Regions from separate parts of the Homo sapiens genome. Here region 2 is linked to region 1. The links are contacts of gene promoters, found by promoter capture Hi-C in blood cells and fetal thymus (Javierre and others, 2016). All regions are on one chromosome and are shown on one strand. The core of a region is centred on a gene start or on the middle of the fragment in contact, and the rest is flanking DNA. Distances in the headings are between cores, read along the strand shown.

What was found. Contacts are between HindIII fragments. The CHiCAGO score rates a contact against its expected background, and 5 or more counts as called.
Region 2: a contact is called between a fragment that was not itself captured here and the fragment with the promoter of F5 in region 1, in 11 of 17 cell types (neutrophils, activated CD4 T cells, non-activated CD4 T cells and 8 more). The highest score is 12.4, in neutrophils.

The regions. Positions count from the first base shown.
Region 1 is chr1:169,583,672-169,588,458 of GRCh38, forward strand. It overlaps F5 (coagulation factor V), which reads right to left and starts at 2,810. Exons shown (of 25, transcript NM_000130.5): 1 at 2,558-2,810. The coding sequence starts at 2,715. RefSeq lists enhancers at 2,284-2,785, 2,786-3,285. The HindIII fragment of the contact is 11,391 bases long and covers 1-4,787 here.
Region 2 is chr1:169,727,538-169,732,324 of GRCh38, forward strand. It overlaps SELE (selectin E), which reads right to left. Exons shown (of 14, transcript NM_000450.2): 4 at 4,298-4,405; 5 at 2,895-3,080; 6 at 1,951-2,136; 7 at 1,649-1,837; 8 at 521-709; 9 at 202-390. Among named protein-coding and RNA genes, the nearest start is that of SELE, 4.1 kb to the right of the region's middle. The HindIII fragment of the contact is 426 bases long and covers 1,642-2,067 here.

The DNA of each region.
Region 1 (4,787 bases), core at 1,560-4,059:
TTGTAAATGTAATAAGAGTTAGTCTTTACCCTTCAGGTTTTCTCAGAAAGCAAAAACAAATCTGTAGTTACAGTAATGCTCACAAATTGTAATATGTGGAATACAGAAACTGTGTTAATATGTGGGGGCAGAATTAAAGGAGGCACGTAAGTACTTTTAGAATAGCTAGATAGAGAAGGTAGTGGATTCTCCATCACTGGAAGCATTCAAGTAGAAATTAGACAACTACTTGGTAAGGTCATTGGTGCTGAGGGAAAGGGGAAAAGTAGAAGGTTAAAGCGTGGAAGTTGAATATGAATTAAATGAACTCTTAGCATTCTTCTAACTTAAGAATTCCAGGATTCTATATACTAATGTCCCTAATGTGGAAGTCCATTTTTATTTATTTATTTTTAGTACAATTGAAAAGTTATTGTCCTCCCCTGCCCCAGATCTTTAATACAGAAATGTAGATGATGGTGTAAAATCTTTACTAAAAAATATCAGTCTCTTACGTGGAGTAATTTCAACAGAGAGATGTTTCCTAACATGTTTTTACTATGTATGCTGTGTATTCATACTGAGGTATGTCTATTTTGATCTGAACAATTTCTATTGGAAAATAATCTATCTGATTAAAAAGTTACAGATCATATGAATTCAAACAATGTGTACGACGAGTTTTTCATTTATAAGGATTGTTTAAAGATGATTTGTTCATAATCACAAAATCATATAAAGCTAGAACCCTAGAAGGAAAATGTATGTATATCTTTTCTTCAATATCTCTTTGTATACATGTGAGTGACTAAACAAGTTTTCTAAGGAAATTTTTGAAAGTGTTCACCTTAGACTTGGAGCAAGAATAATAGATACATTTTACCTTTAAAAGGCATTGTCCTGCTAATATTATATGAAATAAGTAGATAGATGTCTGCTTTGTGCTAAAATACACTTTGCCAAAAGATGGAGTTGGCTATGTTGATATTCACCTAGTGAGTATCATAGCTCTAGGGGCAGGACAAGTTAGAACAAGTTCTTAGTTTAAGCAGCCAGATATATGGATTAGATTTTTCATAAGAAAATGCTAGAGAGAAATGATATGATTTAGGGTTAAACAATATGACAGTTTGTCTGGGTTGTGTTTCTATGGTTTTGACTCAACAATTCCTACCAGAGGAACGAATCTCCAGAACTTTGGAAACTTACCCACAGGATGAGGGGACAGAATGACCAGTCATGGTTCCCTGTGTACTCACCATGTGAATCAGACCTTTGCCCTATCTGGTTCTGCCTCCGGTATTTTGCTTGTTATTTTCAACGCTAACTACAGACAAGAGAAAAAACTCCCAAGCATGAACCCAGCATGCTACAAGAAAGCCAACAACCAAGTCTGCATTCTACTCATGAGCAGGCAAGATTAGTGTTAGAAGGACTGTTATTTTCCTTGGGGTTTTAGCTTACGGCAGTTCCCAAAGGGTGTGGGTGTGACCTAGATTATCACTTTGAAGTACGATATTTAAAATGATTATTTTTGAGAAGGAGGGATCTCTTCTTATTATAAGACCAAGATGGTATGTAATACCCTCCAAAATAACCCAGTTACAATGAGAGTTTTAAAAAGGTTAATATTATACACTAAAAGATCTCAAAATATTACATTATTTTTTGGCAGATTACTTTGGTTTTGTAATTGTAAAAGAGGAACACATCTTTCATAATGAAGTGTGATGTAAGGAAAAAAAGTGAGTCACACTAGCAGGTTTACCATTTAAAAAATAACTAACTGGAAATATTGAATAGACTGTATGATTTAGTTAATTTCTGAGAAGTCTTATTTTTAACATTTCAATTAGAAAAAATAGTTTGCAACTCAAGGATAGTATTTTATCTGAATTAAACCTCCTCTCAGTTACATATGCCTTTAAGTAGCCAAGGTAAACCATATCCCAGGACATGATGAACAGAGAGAAAAAAAAATGAAGAGTCACATTCAATAGGATAAATAAGTCAAATATGAAGCAGAAAAAAGGTGAAAGTACAAAAACATACAAGAACTGATGATATTTTGAAAGTCATTTATAAGGCAGCAATAAAATTATATGACAAAAAGCACAAGGTGTTCATTTTTAGTTTTAGAAGATGAAGCTATGTAGACAATGGAATAAATAATATGTAACTAGGAGTCTCATAAAAATACTATACAACTAAAAATCTGGAACAGGAGTTTGCAGGAAGGGCTAATGAGGGAGCAAGTGCCTGGTGCCTTTGAATTAACCAATATATAAGCCAACACAAACATACTAACAAAACTGTATTGAAAATAAACTTGAAAAGAAGGTAGCATCTAACCAATCAAATAGGGTGCTTTCTAAACCCTCAGAATGATAAACTACATTGTTGGATGCAAAATTAGCATTTGCCCAGTTTATTTAATTCAGTATACTCTCCTATTAGTTATATTTACTTACCTGAAGTTAAAAAAAAAAAAAGCCATGACATTGCAAAGGGAATGTTCTCTAAAAGAAATAGATTTTCCTCTCTAGAGAAGCCCACCCGGACTCCACACCTGAGTTACCTTGAGTTTGTGGGCTCAGGTCGGTAGCTCCAACTGATGCCCTGAGCAGCCACGTAGAACTGCCTTAGCTGTGCCGCTTCTGTCCCTTGGCTCCCCCAGCCTACCCAGCTGGTGCCCAAGACCACCAGGACCCAGAGGCGTGGGCAGCCTGGGAACATGCTTCCTTTCCTGCTCCCGCTGGCTGCCACCACCCCAGGACCTGGGCAGCGCTTGCCGAGCTGCTAACCACACTCCGGGCTGTCCCAGCTGCAATGAGCTCTAGAGGCTGTGGGTGGCAGCGTCCTCCTCCCCTGCAGTTCTTGCAAACGGCAGCAGCAGCCTCTGGCTCTCACTCCCTCCGCTTTTTCTGGGGCTTTTCCTGGCAGGGGTTTGGTGAGATCACAGCTCCCAGTGACCAGAGGTATTAGGGAGAGCAACCAAACTAGTGACTGTTTTACTGCAGGTGAAGAAGGGGCAGAGATCAGAGGCTCTAGCAGGCGGGACAATGCCCAGGGATTCATGAGCCGGACAAAGCTGTATCCCTCCATTTCCACCTGCCAACACCACGGAAGCAGTCGTCCGTTACCACTGACCTGAGGCCTGCCTGGGTCCAAGCTCACACTTGGAGAACCTTCTGTGCAGTGCAGTGGCACCCAACCACCTTAAGCAGATGGCTCCCCTTTTAATCTGAGGAAAAGAGTATTGTGCCCTGTTACTGGGCACTGAAACACTATTTTCAAGTGGTGAAGAAGCAGGGAACAAACACATGGACAAGGCCTACTGCTCTGAATCGCCTTCCTGGCCTCTATCAAGGCACAGTTCTGCCTTGATAAGGGCCTGTCGCCAGCTAAGCTGCAGCATAGCAGCGGGCTTGAAGAGCTTGGCTGAAAAAAATCAGTTGTCCAGATTTCAGTTTCACTTACTAGCTGTGTTGTCTTGGGCAAGTTACTGTACCTCTCTGTTCAGTTTTGACATCTGTGAAATAAGGATGACAATAATAATTTTTCCTGATAGGGTATGTTGGGAGGATAAAATGCTACTGTAAACTATAGTTCCAGCACTTAACACACAGAGGCTAGGCGCAGTGGCTCACGCCTGTAATCCCAGTACTTTGGGAGGCCAAGGCGGGTGAATCACCTGAGGTCAGGAGTTCAAGACCAGCCTGGCCAACATGGTGAAACCCTTCTCTACTAAAAATATAAAAAATTAGCCGGGCGTTGTGGTGGACACCTGTAATCCCACCTACTCGAGAGATTGAGGCAAGAGAATTGCTTGAACCTGGAAGGTGGAGTTTGCAGTGAGCTGATATCATGCCATTTTACTCCAGCCTGGGCAACGAGAGCAAAACTCCATCAAAAAAAAAAAAGAAAGAAAGAAAAAGAAAGAAAGAGAAAAAGAGAGAAAGAAGGAATCACAAATTTATTATTATGATCATATTTTCCTGTCTCCAGGACCCCTTGTATTCTTGTTTTTCTTGAAGGATCTGACTGTTTCACAGCACCTTAAATCTTACTTTGCTATTGATAGAGAATCTGCGAATTATATTGTCTGAGGCATCATAATGACTTGTCCTGGGTTCCCTGTATCTGCATGGCTCCAGGTTTCTGTCTTATGCTTTATGCATTCAGTACATTCAATAAATTGTAATCTGGCACCTCACATGAGGTCTCTGTTAATGATATCAGGCTCATCAACAGCCTCTTCCTCCCTCCCCACTCCCCCCAATATTCTGTCTTTTCTCCTGTGCTGATATTATTGCACCAACTTAGAATGCCCATTTTCTTCCTCTTTGCTGGGCCATTCTTTACAGTCCAGAGTTCTGCCTATCTCCCAGATTCTGGGCTCAAATTGGCTTTTCCATTTTATGAACTATTACAACACTATTCAAATTATATAATCATGTTAATTACCTTTTGTTATTCCATGCAGGTATCTATTGTCTCCCTAACTGAACAGTTGCTTACACTTCTTTATCTACAATATTATCAGTGTCTCCCAAAGTTGGCAGACCATCAGAATTCCCAGGGGAACTTTTACAAAATGTAGATTCTGACTCAGGAAACAGGGTTGAGACCAAAGTCCTAGAACACCTAGCCTACTGATTGACATTTAAATAAGCAGTCAGAGATGCTACTGGCAGTGTATCAGAGAAACGTTTTGAAAGCACTGTGTCCCTAAATCCCAAGGTTACTACCAGAATTGTTGCAACATTATTGTAACCTTTGAGTAGGCTGCTTTTTTATTTGCATGT
Region 2 (4,787 bases), core at 605-3,104, 140 kb after region 1:
GGTACACAGGCAGAGTTTCAGAAAAATCTACTGGAAAACTTCCAAAACTTGCTTAAAAGTCAACAATGAATGTAAAGTGTAAGCGCTACTTAGTTTTCAGCATGTAGGAAATTAGGACCAAACCCCTTTGGGGCAATCTAGGTTCAGAAACTTTATGAAGTATTTGACCTGTACCCTAAAAAAGTCTGCACTCAATTCTACCTTGGCAGGAAGGAACCTCTTCTGTCCATTGTCCCTGAGATGTGCACTCAAGTTGAGTTGATCCATGTAATTCAAATCCCTCCTCACAGCTGAAGGCACAAGAGGACTTGTAGGTGAATTCTCCAATAGGGGAATGAGCACACCTCACCAAACCCTTCGGGGGCTGGTGGACAGCATCGCATCTCACAGCTGGAACACACGAGAGAGCACTTTAGAAGTTTGTTTGCATCTCCAGCAATACGTTTCCCAAGGTAACCAAGTTCCCAAGCTCTTCAATAGTTCTTTTTATCTTAAAATAAAATAAAAACAAAGACTGTACCTTCACATGTGGGCTTCTCGTTGTCCCACTCCCCTGTGGGGCCACATTGGAGCCTTTTGGATCCCTTCAACACAAAACCCTGCTCACAGGAGAACTCACAGCTGGACCCATAACGGAAACTGCCAGAAGCACTAGGAAGACAATTCATGTAGCCTCGCTCGGGGTTGGACAAGGCTGTGCACTGGAAAGCTGAGACATCAAAATGATGGTCAGAAAATATTGCAGTGGAACTAGAGAGTACTTGGCGTTTGTTGAGTGAACCCAGTTCATTCAAGCAACACTTGGAGAACTGAAGATTCTTTATAATTCCCTGGACAAATGGGAAGATGGCTGTGTTTTCTTTGAATTTCAGCCCCCTCACTGATCATGGCACTAATTAAAAGACTAATTAATCAGAACATTAGTTCCTGAGCACTGTTCTTCTAACACACAAAATAAATTATGGTCCAAGGAAAGATTTCACGCAGTCTGAGGACAACATATGGGTCATGGATGTTTATAGATGGTGCCAAAAAGAAAGAAAAGAAAGCACCCCTATAAAATTTGTCTGTTTTGCAGTTTGGTTTTTGTGTTATGTTTTGCTACTGGAAATCATTCTGTGCTGGCTTTGGCTAGGACAAGGCCAGTGCCTGATAGTAAAAACTGCTTGTTTTCAATATCCTTGCTCTCACTTTAAAGTGAATTAAAATTTACTGCTTATATATGCATCAATACTATCTCTGTAGCTGACACCATGCTTGAAACAGTCTCATCACTGCTAATTATGAGCCATTTCAGAAGACAGGTGTGATGAGAGTTTTACATTCAAATCATGTTCTCATTATTCTGCTTTCCGAATTTTCTAATATGATTCCTTTAGATTAAGAATTCTGTCTATTCCATGCTAATGTCTACAAAGTTTTATCAGCACATCACAGTTAAAAAAAAACAGCAAAGAATTCATTCTTAACACATATGATCCTTTCCCTGGCCAAACATTAGTTCTTTTAAATGAATCTCAAAGATACGAGGGTTGCTCATCAAATCTGATTTCTATAGTTAAAGTGGGTATTGGTTTTTTTTTTCACTGTCCAAGTTTGAAGATGGTTGTTCTTTAAGAAAGTATAAATCGAAGGATCTCAAGCTTACCTTCACAAACTGGGATTTGCTGTGTCCACTGCCCTTGAGTGGTGCATTCAACCTGGGCTGGTCCCTGCAACATGAAGCCTTCCTCACAGGTGAAGTTGCAGGATGATTTGAAGGTGAACTCTCCAGCAGGGGAATGGCTGCACCTCACAGAGCCATTCTGAGGCTGGCGGACGGCCCTGCATGTCACAGCTGTAACAAATATACGCATTGATATTAGCACGGCCTAGAATTAGCTTGCCCATTTCCAGTATGGGTTGAGAGAAAGAATGTTCACAGTAAGTCTCCATGTGGAACAACTCTACCTTTACACGTTGGCTTCTCGTTGTCCCAATTCCCAGATGAGGTACACTGAAGGCTCTGGGCTCCCATTAGTTCAAATCCTTCTTCACAGTCAAATGTACAGGTTGTGTTCCATGGGAAGCTTCCAGGGTTTTGGAAACATTCCACGAACCCATTGGCTGGATTTGTCACAGCATCACACTCAACCACTGAGGATTTTAAAGAGCACCATGAATTTTACAGAAGAATGATCTTTTCACTTCCTATTGAGCTGGGTGCCTAACAGAGTGAGGAAGCTGCCTTCAAAGGGTAGATCCCAAAGTCCTATGTCAATTCTTAGGGACATGCACAGCCAGAATAAAAGCTTTTATTCTTTTTCATGGATATTCTATCTTTTCTGATTTCCACTTTGCCTATGCTGAGTGGTCTCTAATCTATGTTATCATTTACGTGAGGTAAAAATTTAAAAAAAATAGATTCCAGATTAGGAGTTATGACTAGTACTGACATACGTAGGCTATTCATTTATTTTAGCCCATCAGAGCCTGAAGAACTGATTTTTCTTTTTTTGGCCTCTGGTTCAGAAAGATAAAATTAAGAGAGAAAAAGAGATACTAAGACTGCTTGACTATCATGGTCTTAAGTTAGTCCCATGGCTTGGAAAAGTTAAACAGGGAAACAAGATGAGAAATCCATTGAGATTTCTAGAGCTTTATTGTTTTATGGTCTCCCTTACAAATCACCAGAGCCTCAGAAACACCCATTTCAAGCATAGAATAAAAAAACCTCTCTCAACCCAAGCAGGTACTGGGTTGGCAATATACATTGGCTGAGAGAACAAATTGTATTAAAAACAAAAACAAAAAAAAAACTTTCCCTGAAGTTTTGAAAATGTAAGTTGAATCAAAAAACAGAAGCAATGAGGGATGAGTTACAGAACGTTCTGTGCATTCTCAGAGGGATTTACCATTGCAGGCTGGAATAGGAGCACTCCATTCTCCAGAGGACATACACTGCATGGTCTCCATGCTGCTTGGCAGGTAACCCCTATCACAGCTGATAGAGCAGGAAGAATTGTAGCTGAAGTTTCCCAGTGGGTGACTGCAAACCAGGCTTCCATGCTCAGGGGATTCCAGGGCTGTACAGTTCACAACTGAAAAAGAAACCCAAATCAGTTCTGCTCATCTCTCACCTTTAACAGATAAGAACACTGGAAACTAGAACTACAGTTTGGTTTTTTTTTTTTTTAGTTTAAAAATTTATAAAATTTCTAATGGAATTTGTAAAATTGACTGTAATTCTACCCCTTTTCTTTTATTCAAGAAAATGCTGATCCATAACAACAACAACAAAAAAGCAGTGATGACAACCATAAAAAAGAAATATTGAGTGATATGGGGAGAGTAGTGTAATTGTGTTTACCTCAAAACTGTTCAAATTATATGAACAAACACAGCAAACTTAGGTACCACAACAAATTTCTTGTTACTTTTCTCACAACTGCTAAAAATACTACAGTAAGCTTCCAACCAGGATGAGAACCATTCACAAAGCTATATTTCAAATTTAAGTACTAGAATACATTACAAATTTTAAAACCCTAATGCTGCACTGTCTACTATAGTAGCCACTATCTGTGTGGCTACTCAAATTTAAACTTGAATTCGTTGAAATCAAATAACATTTAAAATTCAGTTCCTCAGTGTCACCAGCCACATTTCAAGTACTCAATAACCACATGTGGCTCATAGGTACACACTGGAAAACACAGCTATGGAACATTTCCATTATCACAAAAGCTCTACTGCACAACGCTGTGCTAAGGAATCTTGGAGAGAAGCTCATCTAACTCTCTTAATGTACAAATTTAGGAACTGAGACCTCATTTCATTCAAGTGACTTGCTCCATGCTACACGGCTAGTCATTACAGAGCCAGAGGCCAGAGCATGAACCAAGATACCCTGGACTCTGTAACTCACTCATTTCTACTGCAACGTCTTGTTACCACCTAGATGAGGTGAGTACATGTTCCTCGCAGGGACACAGAATTACAGTTTATTGAATGTGTCCTGTGTGCCAGGCACCATGTAACCATGAGCCTATGAAGTTCACACTATTATTATCCTCATTTTACAATGAGAAAACTGACATAGAGAGTTAAACTATCTTGTCAAGGTGCCAAAATAAATAACTGGTGAATCTAGGACTCAAACCCAGCAGGGTCTGACTTCATAGTCTCAGCTCACGATCACCATATGACACCATCTGCACCAGGGAAGGGAAGGCATGCAGACCTGACTCTAATGCCAGCTAGGACGTGAGATGGTGCTACCATCTCAAGTGAAGAAAGAGGCAAGAACCAGACTTACTTTGCTCACACTTGAGTCCACTGAAGCCAGGGTCACACTTGCAAGTGTAATTATTGATGGTCTCTACACATTCACCGTGGCCACTGCAGGATGTATTGGTACAGGCAGCTACGGAAAATACAAAGCATGATGAGGAGGACTATTACTGTGCTTATACTGAGTGCCTTTGATTTTAGAATCAACAGTGTGCAACAGAGACATCAGCAGTCCTACAGAGTGCCATAGACTTTAACTGAAGTGTTTTACAAAGTTCCAAATCTGAGTTTCAGGCCCACCTATCCTAAACCTTGATGCTAATGTATAGCTGTGGCTGGCACCTACCGTAGAAAATTTACTTCTTCACAAACTCTGAAGACAGTTCCCCTACCACAAATAAACAAGTAATTAAAATATGTATTGTGTGTGTGCATTTTTATATGTAAAGAACTACATATTTGCCTACAGTATTTATATATATTTTATATATATACATACACACATATATGTGTGT